Linked DNA regions of Homo sapiens: region 2 is linked to region 1. The links are contacts of gene promoters, found by promoter capture Hi-C in human tissues and cell types (Jung and others, 2019). All regions are on one chromosome and are shown on one strand. Each heading gives the region's core, a stretch centred on a gene start or on the middle of the fragment in contact. The rest is flanking DNA. Distances are from core to core; before and after follow the strand shown. Region 1 holds the start of CCDC102A (coiled-coil domain containing 102A). Region 2 holds the start of ARL2BP (ARF like GTPase 2 binding protein).

Region 1 (5,004 bases), core at 118-2,617:
AGCCTTCATTTCCTCAGCTGTAAAATGTGGATGCCCTTGTCCTCTGAGTACTCAAACCCCACATACATCTCCTATCTATCTCTGGCTGGTGAACAGACGCTTTCAACATTCAGCCACGCATAACAAATACAAAGCAAATGAATCGACAAGTGAAACTGCCAGTCTTGCAACGTATGGGATTTCATGAAGTTGGTGGAAGCAAAGCAGGAGAAATGGAACAGCCGCTGCCCACAGAGAAAGGGAACGTCTGCAAGGGAAGTGACCCAGACCCGAAAAAAGGCACTGGACTATCAAAGGATTCAGAGTGATCCTTGAGTTTGAGGAAGCTCTCAAATATTTTTGCAAAAATGAATCTCTTACTGCAAAAACCAGTTCAGAAGGGAAGGATGCTACATACTCAACTATTACAAGAAAAAGCAAGACTTCCAGTGTTAACATCTGATTCATTCTTGGTTCATTTTAAGGCGTGCGTGGTTGCAATCATAATCTAAACTCCGTTAATCACGGGGTAAAACTAATTTATCTTCGTAATATTTAGCTTCTTTTTCTAGGTAAAATCCCAATCAGGCCAGGTTTTCCCCACCATCTTGGTGAATTGTTGGTCTTCTTTTAAATAGATTCACCTCGGGGGCCTTCCAGGGTACAGGATGTAGTGGGGAGTCCTCCAGACGCCTGTCCCGGCTTTCCAGTCAAGACCACAAACATCCTACCCCCAATAGAGAGAAAGCCCCAAAACAGCTGGGCGTCCCCGAAGGCGAAGTACCGTAATTCCCCAGGGCCTGCCAACCACCATCGCAATGCAGAGAAAAGTCTCCGCCCGCCGGGCCGAGTGCTCCCCGCGCCCCCCACCTCTTAACAAGCGCAAGGTTGCTTTCGTCAACCCTTCTGTTGTACAGAAAGAGAAACTGAGGCCCGATGGGCACAGACTTGTTGGCCCACTTCCACTCGGTGGCAGAGCTGGCCCAGGGAAAAATGCAGGTAACAACAGTGAAGACTTGGTAAGCTCGCTCCACGTGCCGAGCTGGGACCCGCGGTGGCCGTTTCTGCTGGGGGCGCCTAGTACGTAGTTGGCGCTGAGGAAACCTGAACCAAGAAAGCCGAGCCCCCCCGCAACTCTCGGCCCCTCACGGGGGTGGGGCCTCCGTTGGGGTACGGCCCGCTCTGCAGCAGAGCCCACCGCCCCGGCCCGCACCCCTCGCCCCGAAGTTAGGCTGGAGCCCCCACCCCAGCAGCTCGGTGGGCCGGGGTCACAGCGGGGCCGCAGCCTGCGACCGCTTCGGGGGCCCCGCCGCTCCCCCTGCTTCCCCTCCCCCCGGGAGGGAGGAGGAGACTCCGCGGCCCTCCCTCGGCCCCTCCGGCGGCGGTCGCAGCTGCACGGTGCCCGCTCTACCCCGCCGCAGCGGCTGGGACGTACGGAGCCCGCAAGTCCCGGCCCGAGGTGAGCGGGGGCGGCAGGCCGGGGGGCGGCAGGCCAAGGCGGCCCGGGAACTTGCTCCAGGCCGCGCGCCTTCCGCGGGAAGGAAGGGGTTAAGTTGTGGGGCGTGCTGGAGGAGCAGACACAGTCGGGGCGCCCGCGGCAACCCCCGAACTCAGAGCAGAACTTTCTAGACGCCTCCCCGGCCTCCCTCAGCCCCCGGAACCCCAGGTCTCCGGTGGGGAGGGGCCGCGGGGTGATGGGGGAGGGGAGGCGCCTCCGGAATGCCGCGGCCCGGGCCGGACGGGAGGGGGCGGCGGGCGGGGACGGAATTTGGGACTCTCCCGGGGGACCCAACGTGGTCGCCATGGCGAATGCGGGATGGACGGGCGGCGCTGGCCAATCAGAGCACGGCGCCCTGCCCAGAGCCGCGGCGACTGCCAATGGGGGCCATGCGGTGGGGTGGGCGGGACCGCGCGGCGCGGGCCGGGAACCCCCTCCACCCTCCGCCCGTCGCTAGGTGGAGCGGGGCGGTTCGCAGGGCCAGCGGCTTGGGAGGGGTCGACTAAGTGAGGACTAAGGCGACGCAGGGCTGGGGCTTCAGTTTCAGTACCTTAGGTGGGGGTGGTGTCCACCTTCCCACCCCCGCTCTCCCAGGGCTCTTGTGGGGGTTGGATTGGTTTGGGTTCGGGAGGTCTGCCCACCTGTTAGAGCGTTCAGGAATCTTTTTAGTGCCTCTCCCCATCCTGTAGGTAAGGAAACTGAGGCCCAGAGAGGGCAGGGACTTGCAGATATCACACAGCATATCAGTGATGGAGCTGGGACTAGCGGGATGTCTGCTGTACAAGAGTGAAGAGTTCACGGTGTTGCCGAGAGGGGTGGGGCTGGGGTCGGGGTGGGGCTGGGTCCCCATGAAGGTTCACCCCACCATTCCAGCTGTGCGTATCCACTTGGCCTGGTGCCTGCAGACCCCATCGTGTAGGTGCTCTCGGGGGCATTGTGCCCCTCAGGTGGCTAAGATCCAGAAGAGGAGGCATCCCATCACCAGCTCCCTACTCTGGCCTTGCTGCTGGTCCGCGGTGTGGACACAGACACGTAGCTGTCCCTCTGGGCCTCAGTTGGTCCATATGTAAAGAAAGGAGTTCAAATCAATGATCCAGGCTGTCTCTGTGGCTCCTCAGTCTAAGATGGGGCTACCTGGGAATAGGCCAGGGGTGCCTACCCCTGGGCTTAGGTCCAGCCTGGAGGCCTAGCCGCCATCCCTTCCTTTCCCGCCAGCCAGCTCCCCCCAGAGGTCCTGCAGCTGGATCCTGGGCAGCAGGTCACAGGGACAGGTGCCCGCAGTCTGTGGGCTGACCAGCCTTGGGCCCTGCACTTATTCAATCAGGCTGTCCTCTGTGGTTTCCCACTGGGCTCTGCTTTCTGTCCACAGCCAGGCCTGTGGCCATGGGCTTGTCCCAGGGCCCTACCTGAAAGGCTCTGGGAGGATCTACAGGGTTTCAGAGCCGGGGAAGGGGTTGGGGCACTGGGCTCCCCATCCCTTCAGCTGGCCCCTGTCCAGGCCTTGGCATTGCTCATTCCTCTCACTGATATGGAGAGACCCATCCAAACATGCTGAGGACAAAACACAACGCTGTTCCCAGTGGGTCAATTAGGCTTCCCCAGGTAAAAGGTGGGACAGCCGACTTGGCCGTGAGATGACCTCTTATTCCAACCCTGGCCAGACAGGCTCAGATACCTACCTGTCTCAGAGCCTGGCCACCGACTGACTCCTGATCTTTAGGATGACTCAACCTTCCCAAACTCTGCATGGTCACAAGGGTACCCCTAAGAGTGGTACCACCTTCTTAGGGGTACCTTCCATCCATCACGCATCTGCTGTATGCTGGGCCCTGTGCTGATGCCCTCGCTCGTGGACTTCAAAGTAAGGCCTTTGCTGTAGAACACGGAGGTGCCTGGTGCTTTGGGAGCATACTCTGTGCAGAGAGGTTAGAGAAGGCTTCCTAGGGGAGGGGACACTGGAGGTGGGTTTTGAAGGATGTGTAGGAGTTTGCTGATGAAGGAAGGAGAGATATTCCAGACAAGTCCACAAGCAACAGGAACCACTGGGTCACTTTCTGTGGGCAGGGCTGATGAGGGCCTAGCCTGCAGCAAGTGTCAGCTCAAAATATTCTTGTTTCTGTCCTGGAGTGAGCTACCAGTGAGCACAGCTGTGGGGCTGGGGTTCAGGAGCCCTGATGGAAGCTCTAAGTGGCACAAGTGTCCCATCTGGATGAGGGAAGCCTGTACTGCCAGAAGAGAGATGGCAGCTTGCCAGGCTTGGCTGTGGGAGGTTGTAGGGCTGTGGTCCCCAGGTGGGGGTGGGGTTGGGGAGATCAAGGCATTTCCTGGAGTTGGTGGCAGCTGAACTTGAAGATGGGTGGGGGTTTTGGAGTCTGGGACATGGGCATTTGGAATACAAACCCAGAGACTTAAAGCAGTAATAGACCTGTCTGGCTGTTGGGAGGCAGGACAACGAAGGGTGGGGTAGGAAAGGCTCCCCGGGGCCTGTGGTGGCCGGTCCCACCGTGACCTGCCCCTTGGTGGGGCAGTATGCCAAGGGAACAGGAGGCCACGCCCCACGCACATAGACACCCCATGGCAAGAGGGCATTGAGCCTGGTGGAAGGGGCGGGCAGGGCAGCTGGGGCATCTCCACGACTGTAAGCCATGCTCTGCGCTGCTGCTGCCCCTCAGTGAGTGTGTGCGTTACCAGGGCTGTGTGTGAGTGTGCACGTTACTGGGGCTGCGTGTGAGTCTGTGCATTACCGGGGCTGTATGTGTGTGTGTGCACGTTACTGGGGCTGTGTGTGAGTGCAGGTCCCTCGGGCCATGTGTGAGTGTGAGTGTTACTGGGGCTGTGTGTGAGTGCGGGTCCCTGGGGCCATGTGTGAGTGTGCGCGTTACTGGGGCTGTGTGTGAGTGCAGGTCCCTGGGGGTGTGTGTGTGAGTGTGTGCATTACTGGGGCTGTGTGTGAGTGCGGGTCCCTGGGGGTGTGTGTGTGAATGTGTGCATTACTGGGGCTGTATGTGAGTGTGTGTCCCCAGGGCTGTGCTGTATGAGTGGGGCAGGGTAGGGGGAGGCGTTGCAAGGCAGGGTCTGGCTGCCCTTGGGTCTATGTGGGAGTGCAGGATTCCTGGTGTGCTGGGGGCGGGGTGGGCTTCTCCAGAAAACTCCCCTGAGGACCCCGACCCCCACCCCTTCCCACACACCCGCTCCAGGGGACCCTGGGCCTGAAGTGCAAAGGTGGGAGTGCTGTTCCAAAACTTCCGTGCTCCTGCTGTGCCCTTTCCTTCTCCCCCAGCCCCTAGGAGGGGCCTGGCCAGGCCGCTGGGAAGGAGAATGAGGTGAGTCTGGAGCCCCCATCTCTGCCTTTAGCATGGGTGCCTGGAAGCCATTAGAGACCTGGGTGGTGCCTGCCCTGGCCCTGCCCAACAGGCTTGGATTCCTGGAAGAAGCCGGTGGCCCTCTCTGGGCCAAGCCCTGTGCCAGGCCTGGCAGCTCCCAGAGGCAGGGAGGATGTGGCAGTGGCCCCCTCCCTGCCAGGCTCC
Region 2 (5,087 bases), core at 99-2,598, 290 kb after region 1:
ATGGTCTTGATCTCCTGACCTCGTGATCCGCCCACCTCGGCCTCCCAAAGTGCTGGGATTACAGGCGTTAGCCACCGCACCTGGCCTGGTTTTATGTGTTTTATGGCATGAAAATGTTAAAACTCAAAACTATCTAAAATTGAAATTGCTCTTACCCTACATAAGAAATAGAGTAGATCATTATTTCCTATAGTTTTGCGAAGAACGCCACACTGCTGGTGCCCTATTAGCCTGAGTCAGTCCCTTCCAGCCTCTGAATCTATGCTTATTAGATGTTTTCAGGAGTACTGGGCTGTTTGTTTCTAAGACAAACTGCAGTAAGCCTTTACTTAAGTATTACATTGTGCTACATTAAAAATTGCAGGCAGCTTGATGTTTTCTCTTTTTAAAATTAACTCTCCAAATTGATTTCAATGTCCTTAAAGAAACAAGCAAGTCCTTAAAAACAGTATCTTAAAAGCTTACCCATGATAATGTCCTCTAAATATCCAACCACAGCATCAAATTCTGCATCAGAGGCGGAGGAGCTGAAAAACATGCCTGGATTAGGTGCTATTTCAAATAATGCATTAAAAAAATGTTTTTAGTATGGACGTTTTCAAACATGCACAAGAGAAAAAAGAGTAGCAAAACGAACTTCCCATCACCCATCTTCAACGATTAAGAATGACTGACTGATCTAGTAAGTCCAAACAGAAGAAAACACACTCGGCACGTTTGTGACATGAACGTTCAATGTCATGACTCCACTTTAATAAAAACTTGTTCTCCAGGCTCTTAGCTATCACCCCATACCTGTCTGCTTGTGAGCATGAACCCGGCACGGGCGAAACACCTGCCGGGGGGGGTCATTTGGTCAGGAGTCCGGGAGGCGGGGGCCAGGGAGGGGTGGAGGGGCCTCGGGCGCTCAACCCCTCCAGGCTTTGCTGACAGCTGAGGGTTGGCGGCTGGGGATTGTGATGGAGGCGCTGATCAACGGTGACACCCGCCTCGCACTCCTGTCCTGCGGGGCCTGAAACCTGCAGCCTTAGTACTCTACAAAAGGAAGGCCTGGAGCTGGGACGGCGCCTTGGCGGCCCCCACCCTGCCCGGCCCGGCCCGGCCCGGCCCCTAAGGACACCTGTTTTATAGGGTCAGGCCCCGGGGCGAACGCCCGCTGCCTCCGGCCCCAAGTCGCCTGCGCCCTGGAGGAGCTACTCACAAAGACAGCGCAAAGCTCTCTCCTTCTAAGGCGTCCATCGCAGTCGCCCCGAGTAGGCTCCAACCCCGCCCGCGGCCCAACTCGCATGCAGGGCGCGGCCGCCCGGCGGGGTTAAGGCCTCTCAGCCAAGGCCGCGGCCAGCTCACTGCCAGGTCGGGTCAGCGCCTGCGCGCCAGGTCCGGCCTTGGATACCCTCTGCCGCCACGCGTCGGTCCGGCCTCTACGCCCGCCTGGCCCTCTGCGCGCGCCGCCGACGCCGCAGGTCCGGGCCTCGGTGACTGCCGGAGGGGCGCGGCGCCCCGCCTCCTGTCACCATGGCCACCGCAACCCCTTCCACCGCCTCACGGCCGGCCGGCATCCAATCACAGGCGAGCGTTACCGATGCCGGGGCGGGGCAAGACAGGGAGAGGAAGTCCCGGAAGGGAGTGCGGAGGGATGCGGCGCTTCGGCGAGCACCCGTTGTGTGGGAACTCCGTCTCAAGTCGCCCCCATTGTACGGATGAAGGAATCGAAGCCACGAGCCAGAATTTCCTCACTCGCAACTCGAGAATAAATTGCGCCTCCCTGAGTGTGGAGGATTAAATAAGTAGTTTAAGGCGTGTTTAAAGAGCGCTTGTAAGTTGCCAAGTCGCTGGAGAGCCAGTCCCTTATCCCTTGAACCAGGTGATGCTGACGTCTGATTTCAAGACAGTTCCTACCCCTCGTGGAAGGAAAGCCCCATCGCAAGAAGTCGATGTCCTGTAATTTACGTTATAATCTTCGCATCATAAAGATTACTCGGCAGTAATTGGTTTCTTGACTAATTATACAAGATGAGAATTGAAGAACTATTTTGAGCCACGCAATCAGGAATCAGATACCTTTCAGGAAAAGGCCTCTTCAAAACTGCCAAACTTTGAAAAAGGATTCGTTTGAGCTGATTTCTCTTGATTGGACAACTAAGCATTGTGTCTCTTTAGTTGCATGATACCTTATGGCCAAAGTGTGGTATATGACTAGAGGAACTAGAGGGGTTTAAGGTATGAACTGAGGGTCAGGTGGCCAGTCAGAATGGGTTAGCAGACATTTTTTATTTTTTTGAGACGGAGTCTTGCTCTGTCGCCCAGGCTGGAGGGCAGTGGCACGATCTCGGCTGGCTACAACTTCCGCCTCCCAGGTTCAAGCGATTCTCGTGCCTCAGCCTCCCGAGTAGCTAGGATTACAAGTACGTGCCACTATGCCCGGCTATTTTTGAATTTTTAGTAGAGACAGGGTTTCACCATGTTGGCCAGGCTGGTCTCGAACTCCTGACCTCAGATGATCCACCTACCTTGGCCTCCAAAAGGGCTAGGATTACAGGTGTGAGCCACCACAACCGGCCTAGCAGACATCTTTGAATGGACTTAAAATAGATATCCGTGGGATCTGAAACAAAGATGGTTACAAAGACACAGTCGGGTGTGACAGCTGTGACCAAGGTGACATAAATTATTACTAATTTATTTATTTATTGAGATGGAGTTTCGCTCTTACTGCCCGGGCTAGAGTGCAATGGTGCAATCTCGGCTCAACACAACCTCCGCCTACCGGTTTCAAGCGATTCTCCTGCCTCAGCCTCCCGCGTAGCTAGGATTACAGTCATGCGCCACCATGCCTAATTTTTTTGTGTTTTTAGTAGAGATGGGGTTTCTCTATGTTGGTCAGGCTGGTCTTGAACTCCCGACCTCAGGTGATCCGCCCGCCTTGGCCTCCCAAAGTGCTGGGATTACAGGCGTGAGCCACTGCGCTCGGCCTATTTATTTTTTGAGAGGGAGTCTTGCTCTGTTGCCCAGGCTGGAGTGCAGTGGCGCAATCTCGGCTCACTGCAATCTCTGCCTCCCGGGTTTAAGGGATTCTCCTGCCTCAGCCTCCTAAGTAGCTGGGATTACAGGCGCGTGCCACCACACCCGGCTAATTTTTGTATTTTTAGTAGAGACAGGGCTTCACCATGTTGGCCAGCGTGGTCTCGAACTCCTGACCTCTGGTGGTCTGCCCGCCTCGGCCTCCCAAAGTGTTGGGATTACAGGCGTGAGCCACCGCACCCGGTCAGGTGACATCAATTATGAGTTACTCTGTTTAGCACCAAGTGGAAGATAGGCATTTAAAAAGATTTGCTGAATTACTGGACTGAGTTGTTTAGTCAAGCCCTGGTCACACAGCTTACAGCAAACTCAGAGAGTTTCTTCATGACCTACTTTCTCTATATACCACACATTTCTGGACAAAATGAATTTGCCTACCCTTCCTAAGTCATTGATGGAGTGGAGGAGGAACACACCTTGATTTAATCTGTTCTGGTTATCTATTGCTGTTACAAACCACCTGAAAATTTAGTGGCTTAAAACCACCATTTTGCTCACTAATCTGTAATTTGGGCAGGGCCAGCTAGTCTCTATTCCAGTTGGTGTCGGCTGGGGGCAGCTGGAATGGACTAGAGGAGCTTCCTCCAAGGAGTTTACTCACATGGCTGGCAAATTAGTGTTGGCTCTTGGCTCTCAGTTGTGGACATTGGCCAGAGAACTGGGGCCGGGGTTTGGGGGGTTTCAGTTCCTCTCCATCTATAGGATTCAGGGGATTCTTGGGTTTTCTCACACCATGGTGCTGGGTCCAAGAGCAAGTGTTTCAAGACACTGAAATGTAAGCTGGCAGTCACTTAAAGACCTGGTACTGGAAACTGGCACAATAGCCCTTCCACTGTGTTCCACTGATCAAGCAGACCCAGAGCCACCCAAATTTAAGGAAAGTAGACATAAACCTCATTTCTTGACGGGAGGGATGTCAAATAATTTGTGGCCATCTTTTAATCCATTTCACCAACCTTACTGACTCTAGGAACAAATGGGGATAAAGATAAAAAGTACCCACTCAAGGATGTATCAGATAGTGTGCTAAACATTTATAAATACATTGTCTCCTTTTGAAATATTTGAGACCTTACAAAAACAAAAAACCGGTATGAGGTGGGTAGTATCTCCATTTTACAGACTGGGAAACCAAGCATTAGTGGGACCTGGGTCCAGTCCCACTCCAAAGGGCCTATTTCAACCATCATGCTATATAGCCCCTAATCCCTGGGTTGTTAAACCATATTCTTGGAAATCAGAACGTTTTCTCCTGAATACAGAATGGCCTTTTTCCACTTGTAGCAAAACTAAAAATTGACTTGAATACACTAAATGTTTTTCCATTAATACTCATTTTTAAAATCCTTTGATTGGGGGTTGGCACTAGGAATTCTTCTGAGTGAATAAATAGCAAAAGGTAAATGATGGGCAATATTGGAAAGAGCTGATCTTAGGTGGATGGTTTGTTTTCATGGATACACATTCAAGATGGTTGAAACTTGTGCAAAAGTCATTTTCTGCCAGTGAAATTGTGTCAGTTTTGTGACTGAATCAGTTTCCTGGCACTCTGCAAATGGCACCATGACTTTCTTCTGCTCTATGTTATTTTAAAAAGGGGCAAATTCATTAAAAAACTTTTTTGGCTGAAATGCTGGATTTCCCCAGTGAATCACCTGACAAAATACCATAATTTTTTGTTTTTCTCCCTGGTAACAATTTATCAGTAGTAAAAGTCTAGCTTTTAATTTCTCTTAAATGCTTACATTCAGTTCAGAATATGGATGTACGACTTTACGCTTCCACATAGCTTGCTAACCCCTAGTTTTTTCTTTGATAGGGAGTTCCTGTCTTTCCCTTTGAGGTGGCTCCAAGTTTACAATTTAGCTTCCATCCTGGATGATTTGATCAATTTAATATTGAAGCCCTTTTGTTTTATGATCTAGAACTTAAGAACAGGAAACGTAAACCACCCTAGGAACAAAGTTCAAGGGTAGATTTTTAGAAAGCTGTTACACTCCTGCATT

What was found. Contacts are between HindIII fragments. The study calls those that stand out against the background at their distance.
Region 2: the fragment with the promoter of ARL2BP here is called in contact with the fragment with the promoter of CCDC102A in region 1 in 1 of the 25 tissues and cell types used here (lymphoblastoid cells).

What each region holds. Positions count from the first base shown.
Region 1 is chr16:57,532,934-57,537,937 of GRCh38, reverse strand. CCDC102A (coiled-coil domain containing 102A) reads left to right here and starts at 1,367. Exons shown (of 9, transcript NM_033212.4): 1 at 1,367-1,438. It also overlaps a transcript of ADGRG5 not described here. RefSeq lists a silencer at 1,125-2,074 and enhancers at 4,360-4,918, 4,919-5,004. The HindIII fragment of the contact is 34,087 bases long and covers 1-5,004 here.
Region 2 is chr16:57,241,520-57,246,606 of GRCh38, reverse strand. It overlaps ARL2BP (ARF like GTPase 2 binding protein), which reads right to left and starts at 1,348. Exons shown (of 6, transcript NM_012106.4): 1 at 1,202-1,348; 2 at 466-527. The coding sequence starts at 1,239. It overlaps LOC124903697 (a long non-coding RNA gene), which reads left to right. Exons shown (of 2, transcript XR_007065082.1): 2 at 1-792. RefSeq lists silencers at 950-1,159, 1,250-1,629. The HindIII fragment of the contact is 10,161 bases long and covers 94-5,087 here.